2 separate regions of the Homo sapiens genome follow, and region 1 is linked to region 2. The links are contacts of gene promoters, found by promoter capture Hi-C in human tissues and cell types (Jung and others, 2019). All regions are on one chromosome and are shown on one strand. Each heading gives the region's core, a stretch centred on a gene start or on the middle of the fragment in contact. The rest is flanking DNA. Distances are from core to core; before and after follow the strand shown. Region 1 overlaps STK39 (serine/threonine kinase 39). Region 2 holds the start of LRP2 (LDL receptor related protein 2).

The links. Contacts are between HindIII fragments. The study calls those that stand out against the background at their distance.
Region 1: a contact is called between a fragment that was not itself captured here and the fragment with the promoter of LRP2 in region 2, in 1 of the 25 tissues and cell types used here (hippocampus).

What each region holds. Positions count from the first base shown.
Region 1 is chr2:168,165,463-168,170,074 of GRCh38, forward strand. It overlaps STK39 (serine/threonine kinase 39), which reads right to left. Exons shown (of 18, transcript NM_013233.3): 3 at 1,837-1,945. Among named protein-coding and RNA genes, the nearest start is that of STK39, 80 kb to the right of the region's middle. The HindIII fragment of the contact is 4,333 bases long and covers 1,114-4,612 here.
Region 2 is chr2:169,360,135-169,365,294 of GRCh38, forward strand. It overlaps LRP2 (LDL receptor related protein 2), which reads right to left and starts at 2,400. Exons shown (of 79, transcript NM_004525.3): 1 at 2,187-2,400. The coding sequence starts at 2,265. RefSeq lists enhancers at 2,251-2,884, 2,885-3,518. The HindIII fragment of the contact is 10,463 bases long and covers 1-5,160 here.

The sequences.
Region 1 (4,612 bases), core at 2,030-4,529, 1.2 Mb before region 2:
AAAAAGAGAATGCCTTAAGATCATCTTGTTGGCAAAGCGCAAGTTCCTCTGCTGAATAAAGGGGCAGTCCCAGCACTCAATACTGCAGTCCAGCTCTGGCAGGCTTCCTTTTTCTTTTCCTTTTTCTTTTTTTCTTTTTAATTAAAAACTGAAGTAGGCACTCAAGGAAACAATGACTAATAAGACTGAGGAAGACTGAAAACAGAACAGAACTAAGCTCCCCAGGGCTCCCCACCGAGACCTACACAAGCAGACCCAAGCCAATTACAATGCCTTCGTCATCTCATTTTTGGGCTTCTGCTTGATCCAAGAGAGTTTCCTTTTTAAAAAAGGAAAACATTAAAACACCTCCCTCGACATCTGCAGATTAAAATAGGCTCTATCATATAAATTCTGCTATGCTAGTTTTGGGTTGTCCAGGCACAGCAAAATGTTCTCCTCTGATCCTAAACCATACTTCATGTCTCAGAAAGATACCCAGAGAATCAAGCCCTCGAAAGAGAACACACCAGAGATGTGGGTATGCTGGGTGTTCCCAAGGAAATCACTTGGGCTTTCTAAGCTTCAGTGCCCATGTCTGCAAAACGAAGGTGTAAATACTTGCAGCACAGCATACAAATTTTTAAGTCAACAGATGTTAAAGTCACAAATTCCAGCACCAACATTTACTATGTGTGTGACCTTGGGCAAGTTGCTAAACTCCCTTGAAATTTGGTGTAATTTCTGAAAAACAGGGATGGTGACACAGGCCATTCAGGGACACTGTGAAGATTAAATGGGATAAGGTCAGTAAATTGCCTTGGACAGGATCTAGCCACAGAGTAAGTGTTCAAAAAAGGCAACGGTTATCATTATCATTCCCTCTCTGATAGTGATGTTAGAAGATTAAAAGAAATAAAATACAGGATGTGAAAGCACCTTGTAAATTAAATTGTCAATGGCTTGCATCACTGCAGGGATCTGAAGCTAGAGAGAGGAAGTGACTTTCCCTTCCCAAATGCAACAATAGGATGACAATAGTGCCATTTCTGATCAACACTGCAAGTGAATATGTAGCACACATTTCTCCCCATGTCAACTGAAACCACATTTAGTGAGCACCTACTGGGCGCCAAGTTCAATGAATTCAAAGTGCATTAGACAATCTTCACAAAGTCCACAACCTAAATATGCACTGTCCAATACTGGAGCCATACAAGGTGATTTAAATGTAAGTTAATTAAAATTGAATACTCAGTCCCTCAGTCACACTAGCCACATGTCAAGTGCTTAAGAGTCACATGGGATTAGTAAAAAGTAGATAGCAGCACCTCAGAACATTTCCATCATCACAGAACATTCTGATAAATGGCACTGAGATAATTCAGCAAACTGCAATGTGTTAAGGACCTGAACAATGTTAAAAAGAAAGGACTCAAGGAGAAAGGACTGGCTAACTTTTTTGAAGAGTAAGCGGTGACTGTGGAGAGGATGTGACCTTTTAGGCCTGAGCACATGGAAAACAAAGGAGAGATGCAAGGCTGAGAAAGAGGACAGGTCAGGGGCAAAGGCATGAGAGCACATAATACATTCCGGGGGCTGCCTCTCAGCCTAGAAGGTCGGGCATTTCATACCTGGAGAAGAGGACATACACATTCTCGGAAGTTAAGCAAAATTATGAAAAGCTTTGAAGGTCAATGTGAAGCAATCTGGACGTTATCCTCTAGGCAATGAGAAACCAAACAAACTTTCAAACACAGGAGAGAAAGGATTCAATCTAAAGTCTTCTCCAATATGCTGGTTCCAACAAAAGGAGAGAAAACAAGCAAATAAATAACAACAACAAAATCCACTTACCTCCACTTAGTAATTTCATGACCAGCCAAAGTTCATCTTTGACCACAAAAGAGGTGTAATAGGTCACTACGTTGGGATGGCTGCACTGACTCATGGCTTGAATTTCTTTCTATAAAAAGAGCAAAACATGACATAGTACCATGGGGTGAAAATTGGCAAGCAAAACACAAGTGAATCACAGTTGAGTACCTGGGTAACTTTCCTACTCGAAAGCCTACCTGAGGGGCTGCCTAAGCCATTACTTCAAAGAAGGTATATAAGGACCAATTCTCTCACCCACATTATCAACTCAGATTAGAAAGTTCTCTACAGGAGACCACAGAGCCCTGTGGACCAGCTACCAGACACAGGAACTTCAGATCACTGTTATCACCCAGATGACCCCCCAACTCTGCCAGCAGAGAGCCCTGCCACATAGGACTAAGAGCCTCATACCTGAACCGAAGGCTTGACAGGGAGATAAAAGACTGGGTGAGTTACTAGGACACCTGCATCCTGGTGCCAGCCTGAACTCTGGTGGATCTTAGCTCCTCCCTCATCCAAAAAACGACAACAAAACTGTCCCTGTTTCTCAGGACTGCTGTGATGGTAAATGAGAAAATACATTTGAAAATGCTACAGTATTATTTCCCAGCTATCTGCCACAGTAGATATTCCATTAACTAAAAAAAGGAGGTGGCAGGGAAGAGAGCGGCAGGCGAAGTAAAATAAGCTTGGGAAAGATCAGATAATATATCTCATTCTAAAAGAATCACAGGGAATATTAGTACTGTCAAAGGCTCTGAGAAGTCCTGCAGTAGATAAACTGCCATAGTTTAATCCATATTAACAGAGCAGGAAAAGAATGCTTTGTGGGTCACATCTTGGAAACACTGCTGTAGAGAATAAAATATATTTTATTCTTTGTTGTTTTATATAAAGACATAAAACAACAAAGCTGAGAAATAAAACAAAAGGAAACTTTCAATAAATCACATTTTTCTGGAATATTCAGTTTCATATTGATTTCAGTTTCTCGTTTTAAGTTATTGTCGGATGACTCCCATAAAAGCTTCAGTCTAATGTAACTCTCAATCAAAGGTACCAGACCAGTGTAACTCACTTTCAAGGTGCCATAAAAAGGACAAGAATAACCTAAATGATCAAAGAAACCTCATTTTTGCCATTATGTATTGATGAAAGAAGGGTACATTTATGCATCCTATGAATATATTCAATAATAATGAGCTTCACATTAACTCAAAGTTACCCAAGCAGAACATCTCAATTTGGACGTTATCTTTGCTTGTCCAGTACTGCCTAATCCTCATACTACTAAAAAGATCCTATATATCCGACAACTTGGCCAAAATTCTGTAATATGTAACACTCATACGTTCCTTAACATATATGTTTATTTAAAGTGCTTTTGGCTGGGGGCAGTGGCTCATACATGTAATCCCAACACTTTGGGAGGCCGCAGCAGGCGGATCACCCGAGGTCAGGAGTTCAAGACCAGCCCAGCCAACATGAGAAACATTGTCTCTACAAAAAAATTAGCTGAGTGTGGTGGTGTGCGCCTGTAGTCCCAATGACTGAGGAAGCTGAGGAACGAGAATCACTCAAACCCGGGAAGTGGAGGTTGCAGTGAGCTGAGATCGTGCCACTGGACTCCAGCCTGAGTGACAAAGCAAGATTCTGTCTCAAAAAAAAATTAAAAAATAATAAAAATGAAGTGCTTTTAACCAAAGATAAACTCCTTAGAAACTACTAATTTTTCTTTTTTCTTCTCAGTATATAACAATGATTTTCCTTCATCATTCCCCTCATCCATTTGACTGATTACAGGTTTTCTAAATCTGACACTTTTCAATTCAGCAACTCTTATCCTTTGAATAAGATCTGAAACCTGAGGTTCAGTTTCCATCTGTTTCCGGTATTAGGTTCTGATGCCATAAGACACTTCTGAAGGAGAAATGGAACACTGCCCTGGCCACTCCTATTTCAAGTCAATAGCATCTGCTCAGTGCGGGGATGGCCCACACTGAAGGTCTGTAGCATTAGGTAGGGTCCAGTTTAAACAGATGCCTAGTGTTCAAAGAAACGAGAACAATGTCTCTTAAATGCAGCTGCACTCTAAATGTAAGTGAATGCTTTTCTAGTGCTGTAACTCCAAACTTTTAAATAATTTATCAAAATGCACAAAACAACTAATGGTCATACAAAAGGAAATTCTTTTACATTGAAGGCAAGGTTGAGTCAGTCTAGAAAAACACACTTTTTAGCCCTTTGCATTTAGATGGCCAGTATCACTTCCCACCCAAAGTATCAGGTTCTCTGACTTTGCAGTGAGCGTGTGTGTGTGTGTGTGTGTGTGTGTGTGTAACTCCTTTAGAAAACCTGTAGAACCTATAGATATAACTTAGCAAATTCTATTCCTTCAAAACTCTGAGTCTTAGAGACACCATCTGGACATTAAAAGGTTCCAGAATTTAAATGAGTGGGGGATGAGGGGTCACAGATACTGCCACACCAACACAACCACAGGAGCAGTATAAGGACAGGTAAAAGAAGGGGCAGGGGGCCCAAGAGTGGCTTTCCATCAGTTTGATCACTCAACCTCACATTCTTCTTCCATGCAGCTGAGCCATCCCTCTTCACTTCTTGGCTAGGGGGGTCCATGTCCCCAACTCCTGCACCATCCATTGTCCTGCACAGCAGCTTTTCCACAAGCATTAATGCTTAAGGACATGATGAAACTCGCCTTAGGGAGAAACATCTGTAGCTCTGTCTTGAG
Region 2 (5,160 bases), core at 1,150-3,649:
AAAAAAAAAAAAAAGAGAGAGAGAGAGAGAGAAAACCAGACACTGTATACTGTAGCAATTATAGACTCTGAATTCAGAATCCCTTGAGTTTGCCATTTTCTAGCAGTATGAACTGAGACAAATTACTGAATTGTTCTGTGCCTCCACTTTCTCATCTGTAAAACAGTGATAATAAGAGTACTTACTTCCAAGGGATATTATGAAGATTAATTGAGTCAATAAGTATAAAGTGCTTAGAACAAAGCCTGCCACATATATGTGTATGCTAGGTTACTATTACTATACACATTATTATTATATATTATTATCATAGAATGGAAGATGGATGGGTGCAAAAAACTATCAAGAAGAGTAGGTATTGGTTATTTAGTGACTAAATCATCAACCCAGGAAAAAGAATATCTGTTTTGGTTGTACAAGGACATAGATGAATCAAGGTAAGATTTCCTTTTGCCAGGCACTGACAGGAACATATAGTAAATCCTATAGCTATATTTAGGACATGAGATACAACCCTAAGCATTGTGCAAACTCTGCACAATAATAATAAACCCTCTTTCTGCGTTACCAACACTGAGAAAGGGTGTTCAAAGGAAGGTTATTAATGATCTCTCCTTGCCTCTCCTGCCTTTCTGAAGACTTTTGCAAGACCTGTGGGGTTTGTTAGGGTTTCCAAACTTCTTCCCAGGAAGTCTGAAATGGGTGCTGCTAGGAGTTGCTGTATAATTACTTACTTGATTCCCTCTAAGGAGCTTACGCTAAGAATTGAGGAAAGAAAGCAGATTAACCATTTGAATACATGCCACGGCCCATCCACAAGCCCTCCCCTCACTCCTCCGTAAATGGGGGCTTCCACATTCCCCACCCATCAACCCCAATATGTGATCCAGGAAAATCAATTTATTGCTTTGGCTAATCCTACAACAATAGGGGTTTCATTTTCATTGTAGGGCAATTAAGTTGTCCGACGGGAGGGAAGGAGCAGGAGGGGAAAGGGGGGACTCTCCCATCCCCACAGACAGATTAGTCCCTGCGGTGGCAGCAGCGTCCCCTCTGTCTGTCTGGTGGTCGGTCACACGCAGCTCCCGGCTGCTACCTAGCAACGCAAAGCCAGGGGGAGAGCTCGCCGGTTCCAGCCTCCTCCTCGCCCTTCCCATTCATCCTCGGCCGGGTCTCTGTCTCTCTGTCTCTCTCTGTCTCTCTCTGTCTCTCTCTGTCTCTCTCTCTCTCTCTCTCTCTCTCCCTCTCTCTCTCTCTCTCTGTCTCTCTCCTCTCTCTCCTCTCTCTCTCTCTTCTCCCGCCCCAGTCGTTCTCTTCCCTCCTTCTTTCCTTATTCCTATTTGCTTCTCTTACGCTCTCTCCTCTTCCCTTCTTACTAGTTTTATTCTCTCCGCTTCTTTCTCCCTCTCTTTCCCTCTTCTCTGTTTCTGTTAAAACATAAACTATCGGACAACTTGAGAGAAGTTTAAAGCACTTCATACTAGAAACTTTCTGCATTCGATCCCCAAAACTCTGGCCATGCAGACGGGCCCCATTCATCAACACAAAAGCCCCCAGCTCCCAGCTGGAAAGGAAAACTTCAAGAAAAGACTCCAGTCCCTCAGCCACTCTCTCGGCCAATCCCACCTCCCGGCCTTATCTTGGCTCGTAAATGATCTGTATGGTGAGAGCGGTCTCTGGGGGTCACCGCGGGACCAAGTTTCGCCGGTGGTGGGAGGAGTGCTCTGGCCCGCGGCCCTGGGCGCGCGAAGGGATCCCGGGAGGGGCGCTGCAGGTGGAAAGCTGCGCTCTGAGCAGAGCCCGGGACCGCGCCGCCCAGCAGAGAACTCCGCTAGGGAGGGCAGGCTGCAAACGGCGGAGAACCTCGTTCTCCCGCAAAGTGCTTTCCAGGAGCATCGGACCAACGCCCGTGGGAACAAAGACAGGGTCTCCGTGGGGTGCGCTGTCACCGAAACTGGCGGGGCTGCTTTCTCAAGTTTGCTGCCGCTCAGTTCCTGGCGAGCGAAGAGGGGCGCTCCCGCTCCGGCTTCGCGAAGCAACCTGAGCGCCCCACCGGGAGCAGCTCCCGCGCCGCCGCCCGGCCCTAGCCCCTGCCCGGACGCTCTCCCCTCCGGCCTCCCGCGGACCCGACCCTGCCACAGCCGGGGAAGTGGGGGCTCCACGAGAGGCTCTGGCTGGGCTCTTACCTTGGCCACTGGCCGGCGCTAGGCAGGCGACGAGAGCCAGGAGCAGCGTGCACGCCACTGCTGCCGGCCCGCGATCCATCTCCGCGACGGTCCCCGGCCTCGCCGTTCCTTCCCCGGGAGGTGGGCGCGCGTAGCACACCGCACCGGCAGCGCCTCTGCTAGCGAACGCTCCTTTAGGTCTGCACCTCCGCCAGCTCCTAGTGGCCAAAAGCCTGCCCCCACGCCCGAGGCATCCCGTTTTCTACCCGCGCCAGTCCCCACCCTCCAGACAGTGCATAAAGCCCTTTAGACCCGACCGCCCCGGAACAAGCATGCGGGAATCCAGCGGGCAGGCCCCCTGCCGCCCGGCCCGCCCCCTGCACTTTGCAGCGCGGGGAGGAGTGGGCACTCGAACACACGCGTGCTCACACAGGGACACTCACACAGGCGTGTGCACACTCACACACGCACTCATACAGGCGCATGCACTCCTAAGTGTCACACCAACTGACACAGATTCACTCATACACGCCAGTCACACACGCGCGCACATTCCACAGTCACACTTCAACGCCGACATACACAGTCCCCTTTACGCGTGCATACAAGAGCACACTCCTGTGCGCACACTCTCACAGGCACACTCACACGTGCACACGCGCTGCCCTCGCCTCTCCGCAGGGTTTGCCCCGCACAGAAGCCGGCGAGGCGGCTCACGGGGAAATCTGCACGGACGCAGTTTTACTAAATGAGCAATGGAAAGAAATGGACGAGGAGGAAAGTCAAGAATAGAGAAGAGAAAGAAAAAATAAGAAATGGAAAAGGAAAGCACAACCAGACAAGTAAAAATGAAGGAAAGAGAAAGAAAGGGAAAGAGGCGGGGGTAGGGAAGGGAAGGAGTAAAGAGCCTGCTGGATGGAGATCTGTGACCTTCATTCCTGGCCTGATCTCTCTAGGCTCCTTCGGATATCTTGGTTTCCCCTGATAGGATACAGGCTGCTGAGATGGGGTGCTTTGTGTTTTTACAAATTAGAGAGGGAGGTGGATCTTTGTTGGGGAGGTTGGATCCTTATTTAGCAATTATTCAGCACCACATCTACAGGTGTCATGGCCAGATCGTGCTTCTTACAAGTCTGCTCATTTTGAAGCAAAATTGAAAAAGAGCGAACGTCTTCTCCATGGTTCCGGTACCCTTTTATAAGAAGGAGAAACACGAGAGGTTCAGGGAACCCCTAGCCTCCCTTCTTTGGGGCCGCTTTGGACAGGCTGGCAAGGGGCCCGGAAGCCAAAAGCACAAGTGGCCTTACACCCGCCCTCAGCGCACGTCCTCAGCCTGTACGTGACATCAGAGCCCACAGGGAGGGGTAAAAAAGGAGGGTTGATGCAAGTTATTTCCCGGTGGTGGGAACCCTGTGTGAGAAGGGGCTGTTTGCGGGCCTGAGGCCATCCCATCATCTCCAGCTCCAGCCCCTGAACCAGCGCGGCAGCTAGTCCCAGGCTCCGGATCCTGGTCCAAGAAGTCAGGAGCCCTTTCCCTCCAGCGAAGGGGCCGTGACGCATGGAGGAGACAGCCCTGAACGCACGTGGTCGCTGGACAGGTTCCCGCTGCCTCCCTTCCCCAGGGGCGAGAACCTGCCAATTACTGCCAGCCCCTTTCCCCGGGGCACAGGTCGTCCGGGGCTCTGCTGACCCCAACAGTCCGGATCGCGTAGCTTCCGTGGGCTGCAGTGGTAGGCGCAGCTTTAGGTGTGGGGGCTAGGGGAGGGAAAGGATAGGTGTTACTTTGGAAAGACAAAAAGAGATAAATAGACACAAAAAGAGAAAACTTAGGCTTAAAGAAAAAAAGGTGGAGCGGGCAGCGTTGTGGGAAAGAGTGGGAGAGATTCCTGGATTGGGAAATCCAGAGGTCTGTGCTCTGGCCAAAGTCACTGGTTCTCTATTTGCCTCCCTGCATAGTGTTGGGCGCTGTGCGGCGCGGAGGAGACAGGACTGGGGACAGGAGAGCCGGGGTCTGGGGAGGGAGGGGGCGACCGGACCGGAGCGGGAGGAGGGAGGCGGCGAGGGGGCTTGATGCTGCACTCCAGTCTTCGCGGGTGATTTATGCCGGTTCCGGGCGGCCGAGGCGATGGTACGAGACCGCGCCGGGGTCAAGCCGGTCCGACGCCCGCTGGGGCCGCGCTGCATAGTCAATGAGCGTCCCCGCACCTCCGACTTACAAAGAGCGGCCGCCGGCTGGCGGGAGGGAGGAGCGCGAGTGCGGGAGGGGCTGGGCTCCCTCCAGTGCGCCCGTGGGCGCGCAGGCGCGAGCGTGTGTGTGTGTGTGTGTGTGTGTGTGTGTGTGTGTGTGTGTGTGTGTGTGTGTGTGTGCCCTTTCACTGTAGCAGCCAGGGCTCCAAACATTCCTTTCTGTACTGAAGAGTTCCTCAATTGTTGTTGTCTTTGTGCTCCAGTGTTGCCAACTTACTGGAATTCCTGACGTGGTTGCACAGCAGGGCTCAGGCTGACCGTACTAGCCAGCTGCGTTTGTGTATGGGGCCGACCCCGCCGTTAATCCCAGAATAACGCAGAAGAGGGGAAAGGAGGGAGGGAGAACGGGAGGTAGGAGAGCAGAAAAGGGGTAGGGATGGGGGACCACCTAGCGGAGCACAGCCCATCATTCGCAGCACTCTGTATGTGGACCCACACACTTTTCCACTAGAATAACCCATTTTCTCAATGCAATCCCCAATTCGTGACGTTTGAAAACAGCCTGCACCATGCACGTGTTTATCTCTGGCATCCATACCTGAGAATGCCTGTTACTAGATTGGGGTGATTAAATCTATGGACCAGTATCTGGGAAAGCCCAGGTTAATTCAGTTGCAATTTAAGCCAGCAGTGTTTCTCTATAATGCAAAAAGATAATTTCTTTAGTTTTCACATTTCTCTCTCCATATATGTATATAGGACTTTTCAGAGCAGTCAACCGAAAGAGACAGGTGAAAGTGAAACCAAG